2 separate regions of the Homo sapiens genome follow, and region 1 is linked to region 2. The links are contacts of gene promoters, found by promoter capture Hi-C in blood cells and fetal thymus (Javierre and others, 2016). All regions are on one chromosome and are shown on one strand. Each heading gives the region's core, a stretch centred on a gene start or on the middle of the fragment in contact. The rest is flanking DNA. Distances are from core to core; before and after follow the strand shown.

What was found. Contacts are between HindIII fragments. The CHiCAGO score rates a contact against its expected background, and 5 or more counts as called.
Region 1: a contact is called between a fragment that was not itself captured here and the fragment with the promoter of CACNB2-AS2 in region 2, in 1 of 17 cell types (M1 macrophages). The highest score is 5.0, in M1 macrophages.

The regions. Positions count from the first base shown.
Region 1 is chr10:17,593,670-17,598,889 of GRCh38, reverse strand. It overlaps HACD1 (3-hydroxyacyl-CoA dehydratase 1), which reads left to right. Exons shown (of 7, transcript NM_014241.4): 6 at 4,507-4,685. Among named protein-coding and RNA genes, the nearest start is that of HACD1, 21 kb to the left of the region's middle. The HindIII fragment of the contact is 2,967 bases long and covers 1-2,739 here.
Region 2 is chr10:18,259,089-18,264,759 of GRCh38, reverse strand. CACNB2-AS2 (CACNB2 antisense RNA 2) reads left to right here and starts at 3,256. Exons shown (of 2, transcript XR_001747681.2): 1 at 3,256-3,594. The region is part of intron 2 of CACNB2 (calcium voltage-gated channel auxiliary subunit beta 2); the gene reads right to left. The HindIII fragment of the contact is 4,399 bases long and covers 890-5,288 here.

The DNA.
Region 1 (5,220 bases), core at 7-2,506, 660 kb after region 2:
AATGCGATTGGTTTTTTTCTTTGCTTTAAGTTGCAGAGACATTTTTAAAAGTCACACTTACTTAAAATTGTATTATTTGGAATGTGGATAAAATTTATATTTGAAGGGCTCCAAATATATCCTAAAGCAACAGTTTTTAAAGGAAAAGATATCTGTTCTTCTTGAAGTTTGAATTCTTTGAGCAATTGACGTTTTAGAAAGTTATTATAAAAGCAAAACTGCTCTTTGGAGAACAAGTCACAAATCAGTATAGACTTGTTCATTTTATTCTTTGTATTGTACTTTATGGTAGCAATAACAATGACAAATGGTGTGTGCCTACTGCATGCCTGAGATGTAGGTATGAACAAAACAAATTCTCTGTCTTATGATGAAGACAAAACATAAACTAATAATATGTGATATGTCAGGTGGTGATAAATGCTGGGATTATAGGTGTGAGCCACCATGCCTGGTCAATTACTATTTTTTAATCCCAAGTATTATACATGTTCAAATATAATAAATGAGAATATATAAACCAAAAAGAAGGAAAACCACTTTTAAATTACTTATAATCTCTCTAACCAAGGATAACCACTGTTAATTGTGTTTTATGGGTTTTTTTCTCTTTTTTTTTTTTTTTTTTTTGAGACAGGGTCTCATTCTGTCACCCAGGCTGGAGGATAGTGGCACGATCTCGGCTCACTTCAATATCCACCACCTGGGCTCAAGCGATTCTCCTGCCTCAGCCTCCCAAGTAGCTGGGAGTACAGGTGCAGGCCACCACACCTGGCTAATTTTTGTATTTTTTGTAGAGATGGGGTTTTACCATGTTGCCCAGGCTGGTCTCGAACACCTGAGCTCAAGTGATCCACCCACCTCGGCCTCCCTAAGTGCTAGGATTACAGGTGTGAGCCACTGCGCCTGGCCATGTTATATACTCTTTGTGACTTTTTAATATTCTCTAGCTCTTTTTTAGACACTTGCGGCTTACCACTTTGTATATGATGAGATACTTTGAAATTATAATTTGAGCTTAAGTGTCTTGTCTGTCATAAGAAGGTTGTACTACCATTTATATGGATTTGGTTGGTTTTAATCTTACTGTACATGAAAATGTGTTTACCTTTAGTGACTGAGCTTTTTAAAGGTTGGCAGTTTTGAATGTAGCTGGACTCTAATCCTAGAACACATCAATATCATTTCGCATGACAATGTTCTGGACCTCTGGCACCTTTGAAAATACTAACTTACCATATAGTCTCTTTTCATGTGCTGAATTTACAAAATTTGTCTGAAGAGGATAGCAGAATGTACATTGCATATTTTCCTGAGGTTGGCACATTAGACTTGATGGCTTTGTGTGTCTGTCTTTTGGAATGCATTTGCATGTCTTGAGTGTCTGGAAAAGATAAAAACTCTGCCATCGTATGTTTAAATTTGCTGTTTAGAAAGTGTTTATCCATTGCAGGCTGGGCGTGGTGGCTCATGCCTGTAATCCCAACACTTTGGGAGGCCAAGGTGGGCGGATCACTTGAGGTCAGGAGTTCCAGATCAGCCTGGCCAACATGGTGAAACCCCATCTCTACTAAAAAATTAAAAAATTAGCCACATGTGCCTGTAATCCCAGCTACTTGGGAGGCCGAGGCAGGAGAATTGCTTGAACTAGGAGGTGGAGGTTGCAGTGATCTGAGATCACACCACTGCACTCCAGCTTGGTGACACAGCGTGACTCTGTCTCAAAAGAAGAAAGTGTTTATCCATTGCCTTAATGTTAAACAAGTTATACAGTCTTTCAGCTTTGAAATCATATGTTACATAATACTTTGTCAGTTGATCATAATCATAAATAATTATGTTTCATGTCAAAAAGATCTTAAAAATCCCAGCCATCTAAATATGTTTCCCAACTCCATTAAGTAAGGTAAAATAATATTTGTATTTATGTTCAGATGTTGAAGCTGTCATTCTCGAATAAAACTACACTTTAGAAATGGCTTCTTAGTTATAAGTAGTTTGGCCTATTGTTACAGTTTGAATATACTTTGATTCTATTTATGTGTCATAAGTGTTCTTGGAAAAGTCCTCAGAATAGGTAATTGTATATATTAAGTTAGGTTTTTCATATTGATTTAAAATGCACTCCCTTCAAAAAAATTTTAGATAGTAATTGGGAACCTTCAAAGAAGCATTGTATCTTTTTTTTTAATGTGGTCTATCCATAGTTAAATCTCCCATACTGCCCTCAGAACTTAGAGAAGTAGTAACATGCAATCTTTTTGAAGTGCAAGTAAAGTCAAATTATATAATTTGTTCCCATTTCATTAGAAATTTTCATTGCCCTTAAGACTTTCAACTAGCTTATTGTAGGAGTGTTAATTTTTTCTTCTATTGAAGAACAATCCTGCCAAAAAAAAAAAAAATCTTTTGAAAACCACATAAAGTAAAAATTGCAACTTAATCAGTTTGGGTATTTTACTGAGACAGGTATATAAAATGTCCAGTTATGGGATTTAATAAATTGAGGAATAGGGAAAGATTGATTTAAATGATACACAAATAACTACCCAAAACTGGTAAGAAAGCAGGGAGTTTCTCCAAGGCCAAGAAGGGATTAACAGGTACAGTGAAGGAATCATTCTTCTTTCTTGAATAGCTCATCTATTTTGGCAAATAATTCTGCCCTTCTCCCCATCTCTTATCTTCGCATATCCTTGACATACAGGAATAATGCAATTTTTAATTTGTCTCCAAGCTTCTTCAATACTGACAACTTTGACTTTTCTTTATAGATATTTCCTAATGCCAACAAAATGATTAAATAAAATACAGATTAATTTGATTTCTTTTTCCATCAAAATGTTGACCTTTTGTTTTAAATTAAAAACATTTTTCTTTTTTTAAATTAAATTTATTTTTTTTGAGACAGGGTCTCGCTGTGTCACCCAGGCTGGAGTACAGTGGTGCGGTCTTGGCTCACTGCCCCCTTGACCTCCTAGGCTCAAGCAATCCTCCTGCCTTAGCCTCCCAAGTAGCTGGGGCGACAGGCATGCACCACTGTGGTCTGCTCATTAAATTTTTTTTTGTGAGACGGGGTCTTACTATATCGCCCAGAGTGGTCTTGCACTCTGGCCTCTTAAGTTTTCTGTGGTAACTGTTATATAGTGACTGAGTCAGAGAAAAATGATTTTTTTTTTTAATGAAGAAATATGATCATCTTGGATCCTTTAGGCCCCTCTTATTGGAGACCAGCCAGTAGAACACAGAGTGTTTCCTAATTGGAAGCATACAGGATGCCTGGCCTACTGTGTGTTCCAGACCTTGCCACAGACCAAATGAACACATGATGACTTTGGATTTAGAGTAGAACTTTCTTAACTCTACTTTAAACAAGCTCACTCTTCTTTTAATGTGGGAATTCAGGAACTAACTTGTCAATTTATTTTGTTACGGTAGCAGTTTTAGACAATATAATATACTCATTAGTAGCTACTCATGCTTCAGGTGGTATTATCAGTTTTCTGCAATAATTGGTTTTCATTAGTAACCACAAAGACTTTTTCAAATGCCTCTTAAAAATAACTACCTTGGTAATTTCAAGGTTTAGATATAAAATTTAGGATAATCACTGGTCTTTTTAAACGCAGTGTTTGATCAATAAATTACTAGCTGCCGCGGACAAAAGCAGTCATTTGTGATTTTATGCACCAAAGAAGTTACCATTACAATACTTTTTTTAAAGCTACATAGGCCGGGCATGGTGGCTCATGTCTGTAATCCCAGCACTTTGGGAGGCTGAGGCGGGTGGATCACCTGAAGGCAGGAGTTCAAGACCAGCCTGACCAACATGGTGAAACCCTGTCTCTACTAAAAATACAAAAATTAACCGGGCGTGGTGGCGGGCGCCTGTAGTCCCAGCTACCCAGGAGGCTGAGGCAGGAGAATTGCTTGAACCCGGGAGGTGGAGGTTGCAGTGACCCAAGATTGTGCCACTGCACTCCAGTCTAGGCGACAGAGTAAGACTCCATCTCAAAAAAAAACAAAAAACAAAAAAAAAAAACACCAAAAATTAGCTGGGTATGGTGGCACACACCTGTAATCCCAGCTACTTGGGAGGCTGAGGCAGGAGAATTACTTGAACCCAGGAGGTGGAGGTTGCAGTGAGCCAAGACTGTGCCGCTGCACTCCAGCCTGGTGACAAGAGCGAACTCCATCTCAAAACAAAAACAAGAAAAACTACATATACATTTTTTAATACATAAAAGTATTTTGGTACTCTAAAATAAGTTGATACTATTTTATTAAAAAGACATTGCCTATTATGGAAACTGGTATTAGGAAAAAAAGGATGATAATCAATAAGCAAATGATTAAAGTAGAACTATTAACCTTACGTAAGGTTATTGTAAATATGTAAAGAAAAGAGAATTTTGAAGTTTAAATTTAGTAGTAGCAATAGACCTGCAATGTAAAGTCTAATAATTATTGTAGAAAAATAATTCTCTGAGGTTTTTCTTTCTCCAGATATAATTTTTTTATCATCTTATATCCTGTTGGAGTTGCTGGTGAACTTCTTACAATATACGCTGCCTTGCCGCATGTGAAGAAAACAGGAATGTTTTCAATAAGACTTCCTAACAAATACAATGTCTCTTTTGACTACTATTATTTTCTTCTTATAACCATGGCATCATATATACCTTGTAAGTATATACTTATTAGTACTTTGATTTGACATATGATGTGGAAATTTTTGAAAGGATATAATAATATGCAAGGGGAAATAATTAGAAATAATTGCTTACAAATACATTAAAACTTCGGTTTAACTCCATATTTACTGATAATTTGGGAAAAGTGAAGGGAGATAGAGGCAGAAGACAGTTCATTAGCTATGAGAATAAAGGCAGGTAAATTAACGCATGGATTATTGCTTTCTCAAAATCATTTAAACATCAGCTTAGTATGATTTTTTTAAAGAAAGATAAAAACAAATCATGTTTAAAGCATTAGTGCACTTTTTACAAGCATTTAGAATTATATGTCTGAGTATAAACACTGTGTCCAAGAAAATTTCAGATCATTTCTATCTATTCATTAAGCATATACTTGGAAAAATCATCTAGGAGTAGTTTTGAGTCTTATTTGTGTTGCTCTATGTACTTGCAAATAATAAAGCCTCTTTTCTTAAAGGATTTTGAATAAGTCAGCCTCTTCACTAATTTCTCATCATCTTTC
Region 2 (5,671 bases), core at 2,007-4,506:
CACTAAGTCATCACAGAGCCACACAATGGAATACTGTACAACCGTGAGCACGAGAAATTGCAGCTTTAACTATGTGCAGCCACGTGGGTTAATATCATGAATACAATGGTGAGCAACACAAGCTGGATGAGAGGAGAGTACATGCTGTTTGAGTTCATTTGAATAAAATTCAGAAACAGGAAAAACCAATCCACCATGTTAGAAGTCTGTTTAGTGGGTACCCTGGGGGAGGTGGGAGACAGCTGGAATTGGAAGGGAGGAGAAGGTTGCTCACAATGCTTGGTTTCTTGATTTGAGTGTTGGTTACAAAGGCATGTTTGCTTTGAGAACATTCTTCAAGCTCAATGCTTATATAATTTCTGCACCCACTTTTCTGCATGTATGTTATACTTCGATAATAGTACATTTTAAAATAACTAAAAGGGTATAATTGGATTGTTTGTGACACAAAGGATAAATGCTTGATGGGATGGATACCCAATTTTCCATGATGAGATTATTATGCATTGCATACCTGTATCCAAGCATCTTATGTACCCCATAAATATATACACCTATTATGTACCCACAAAAATTAAAACATTTTTTCAAAAAGCTTACCAAAAAGAGTTAGTGTCTCTGCTCTCCAAAGCATGCAAATGTCAATACTTGAGAAGTGTTTCACAGAAATGCACACAGAGCTTACCATGTTTATATATCCTTTTAAATTTAAGAGTATTTATTCAGCTCACAGATTTTCATGTCCTTAACGAAATAGCAAGACAGTTTAGGTAAACACAGGAATTACTTCTGAGCTGCGAAGCTGAGTTCTAAAAGAATGATGGTTAGGAGTAAACAAAAGAATGAAGACTAGATATTGAACATCAATAATAATGTCAAGAATAAAGCTTATGCATTGAGTCTTAAAGAGCAAGACAGGACTACAGTCTGCAGCCTACTTCTGTGAGCCCACTGCTCAGAGAAGTTTTGAATCTGAATGTAACGTTAAACAAGTGAGCGGAGGCAACCTAATAAAAGCAACAGCTTAGAAAGGTAAAAACCTAGAAATAAAGAACTATGGCATATGAGTATAACTTTCTTTGAAACCCACATAACTTTCATATTCTTTCTGAGAGACAATGTTTGAGTAGGAGGAATTCTTAAGAAAGCTGTCATACTAAAAAGAAAAGGTATAAGAACTAGTGAAAGATTAAGACACATGCACACACAGGTGCATATTTATCAATTGATTTATATTACATCTAAAATATATTATTTATGTAATTAGATCTAACAGATATATGCATACATGTATGTATATAAATATTGACATTTAGTTCCAGTATTACCAGAATTGTGATTCCTGGAAACTGACAACAGATTTGAGAAAGGACACCAGGACAGCCCAACCAGTATGACGAGGTCCTAACCACCAGTACCACATAGGGGTCTGGCTGCCCTTTGTATTCAATGAGCAGCCTCTAGACTCATCTGCTTTGCGGTCAAATCTAAAGTCTCCGTTACAGATAGATGCACAGTGGGTTCTTTTCCTTCAAGGAAAAAAATAGGTTTCGATTTAACCTATCTTCCACTCTGGGTTGGCCATCTGTAAAGAAAACTGCAATCCATAAAGTGTCAAAGAAGAGAGGTTAAAACAGCAGCAGGTGGGTTAGAGGTAAGGCTTCCCAAGAGAAAAACACTCTAAAGTAAACGAAAATTTATTTCTAGTGACCAAGGGTATGCATTTCTTTTATCTTTAAAAGACATCTGTGCTCTATATTTTGTGGTACTTTATTCAAAATACAGGGTAAAAATATTTGAGAATGAGCAGATGAACCAAGTCTCTGTAGCTTTCAATCAAGACTTCAAAAATCCAGATTATGTTGTCTCTTCTTTCTATTTATTTACATGTTCAATGTAAGAAGAAGAACTAAAATAAGTAGGGTAAAAATTTGTTGCTTTGTTGGAGGCCTTATTTCAGAATTTTTGTATTCAATAGGCACACATAACCATGGATTTCTTCTAATTCATTATACAAGAATAAACAGAAACACAGAAAGCTAAGAAATTCTCACTCTTCACTATTCTAGAAACTATGGATTTTTAAATTAAAATTATTTTTGTTTTTAACTTAAGGTTTTCTTTAGGCGGCTAATCTTATACTCTAAAAAGTTTGTAACACTTATTCCCAAATCTTATTTAAAAAGCAATTAATTTTTTGACTGGATAAAAACCATCTATCCCTGCAGATGTCGTCTTTAGAAATCTTGGCTGGCTACCTGACTCCTCCATTGATTTCTGATATGTCAACTGTTGCATTCAAAAGACAAATGGCACCAAATATGTAACAACTGCAAAAACCTTTAAATAAAAGGGGTTTTTCATGCTTTTACTTATTTAATAAAATTGAATACTCTCTTTAAGGTTTGACAGTATAGTTATCTCTCCCTGCCCTCCCACCCCACCCCGTCACCATTTCCAACTTTATTATTGAGATCATATCAGATTTTGACCTTGTTTGTCCTGTAAGTCTCACATATATCTCTTTTCTGTGGCCAATTTTCCAAGGTCACGGGTTTCTTTACCTTCAATACTTTAAGTATTGATTAGCTTGCTTTGTCAATTTTCTATTTGTTTTGCAGTCAGGAATGTCAAACCAGTGTTAAGCAATTCAGCACTGCAGTTTGCCCAGCCTGCATAAACCTCCTGTTCCCTTTTACAACCCTTCCTGAAAATAGAGTAGCTGCTCGCAAAAGGAGTATGAAAATCAAGCCAGCGCTTGCTCGGAGCTGGTCGGCTAGTGTAAGGCACAGCATATTGCAATTAGCATCCAATCATGTTAAGTAGTGATACACTTCAATATTTGTGTGAGCCTGCCTTGTAGAATTTAATACTCAGACAGCCATTTTGCAAAACACAGCAGGGCCATGAAATAAGGGCTATTTCAGTGAAAGAGTCACAGGATGATAAAGCTGTTGCAACAGCTGTGTCATCCATCCAGTGATTATTATCTACTATTTTTCTGAAGCTGCTCAAAATAGGATTTAGTGTTAGCCTCTGCGCCTATCTATAATTTGTCAAACTCCGTGGTATTTCTTCCCCCCACCATCCCATCATTCAAATATGAAAACAGGACTACTCTAGGTAAAAGAGAGTATCAACTGGTTTGAATGAGGCAGATCTCTGAGACAATGGACTTCTCAAACCAATCCCCGCGCAAGTTATTTCCAACCTTATCAAAGTCACAAGGCACAAAAGACAGATAAAAACATCTCTGGGAAAAAATAAATATCTCAGAATCTCCTATACCTCAGATTCCTTGAAAACTCATGGTACGAAATGATCGACTGTCTGGTTGGTTCAGCACAGGGAATAAAAACAGCTGAAAGAGGCAACATGCACCAGACAGACACGAATAGTATTTTCAGCTCCCAGCTGCAATTCTACAGCAATAGAAACTTACATAGGACACCCGTACTCGCCGGCGATGCACCAGCCCGCAGCACTGCATGAAGAGGGGGCAGAACGCAGTCAGCGTGTGGCTTCACCAAGCTGCACTGTGCCTTGTCTTCTCGTCACAGCCTCGGTCCATTTCTTCCCACCTTCTACTCCCAGGTAAGAGGCATGAGCAAATCACTTAGCTTCTGCCTCCTAGGTAGTTTCTAAAAAAGCCACCGTTCCTGCAGGCATGCCAAAACTTTGTTCTCCCCTGTTTGTCTTTTTTTGGGGGTGGGGGGCGTAATTTGAGATCTTCTTCAAGGGGGTTTCCTATTTGCAAAAATCTACAAGAAGTAGCATTAATTTTCCGGAAGTAAGTATTGCTAACACAGAGTTAGGACTGTCCAGATCGTCAGAGTTTCTTGGTGACGCTTTTACAGTAGCCATTCTCAACTCGGGAGATTTTCAAACATCTGAGTGTCTTGCATTTCGCGACCCTGCAGTACTCTGCTTTTGAAAAGCAGGAGGCCTACTCCTGCTGCTGTTTATGTGACTGCTTCTTAGCACGCTGCTGTTCCTGCTCCCGCGGCTGCTCGCCTATGATTGCCTTCTTCACAATGCACAGGCTGACAGCAGCATCCTGGATTCACTGTTACCTCTGTAACGTTTTGGGCATATCTGATTTGCTACTTCTCCCTCCTCCCCTGACCCTGAAAAATGACTGAGTCTAGACTCGAATTCACTGTGGATTCCTAGGACTACAGAAACATCCTCCAAACCGTCAGATGCTTTGTCCTGCAGTAGGTATTTCACATGAATTGTAAGGAGGATCGCCAGAGTGGCCTCAGGACCTGACTCGCTCAAGCACTGCGGCGCACAGTTGTTTGGTGCTCGCTGGCAAATGTTCATTTTCTGGGTTAAAGCATGTTAAATAAACATAACTCTGGAAGGCGAATTTGATCCGACTCAGACCTCATTAATTCATTAGATCTCATACCACCTATGATTTAGATATAATAAACTACATAAGGCTGCCTTCCAAGTGTGAGAGCTCCCAAGTCAATATTCTTTGTAAGCTATTATTTAGATCTTTCCCTAAAGACCCAGTTTTCAGGGACTGAGCTGATCCTAATATTCTCCCTAAAGACCATGTAAATGTCACACCTAAAAAGATGAATCATTAAGACATGTGGAGATTCAGCTGTTCATTGGTATGATATCAGCCATTCTAATACGCAATATCTTTAGTGTGTCACAGATATTGATCCAAATTTGCACCCATGCCCAAGTCATTCCATATTCTGTTGAGACCTAAGAAGGTATGTTAATGATTTCATGTCACAGATTAACCACCACTACATCCTTTAGGCTCCTGGAAAAATAAAAGACAATTAATTCTCAACACTTTACCAGTATTTTCTCAAGGCTTTTTTGAGATAGGGTCTTACTCTACTGCCCAAGCTGAAGTGCAGTGGTGCAATCATGGCTCACTGCAGCCTTGAACTCTTGATTGCCTTGCTCAGGCAGTCCTCCCACCTCCGACTCCCAAGTAGCTAGAATTGTAGGTGCATGCCACCACACCTGCTTAATTTTTTTTTTTTTTTTTTTTTCTGAGACAGAGTCTCACTCTGTCACCCAGACTGGAGTGCAGTGGCACAACCTCAGCTCACTGCAACCTCCACCTCCAGGGCTCAAGCAATTCTCCTGCCTCAGACTCCTGAGTAGCTGGGACTACAGGTGTGCACCACCATGCCTGGCTACTTTTACTTTTTTTTTTTGTTTGTTTTTTGTTTTTTTTTCAGTAGAGATGGAGTTTCACCATGTTGGCCAGGCTGGTCTTGAACTCTTGGACTCAAGTGATCTGCCAAGCTTGGCCTCCCAAAGTGTTGAGATTACAGGTGTAAGCCACAGTGCCCAGCCTAATTTTAAAAATTTTTTTATAGAGACAGGGGTCTCACTTTGTTGCCCAGGCTGGTCTCAAACTCCTGGCTCCAGGCCATTCTCCTGCCCCAGCCTCCCAAAGTGCTAGGATTACAAGTGTGAGTCACCATGCCTGGCCTTTAAAGTCTATGATTTAAAGCAACACTTTTATATTATTATTAATAGTCTAAGAGGTTGATAGAGGTGACAAAAAAATTCTGCCTTAATCTCCTTATTTAACTGACAAACTGGGTCCCAAAATGATTCCATGTTTTGTTTATCAGTAATATAAGCAATAGCATAATTTAAACTCTGAAACTTATATAATCTACAT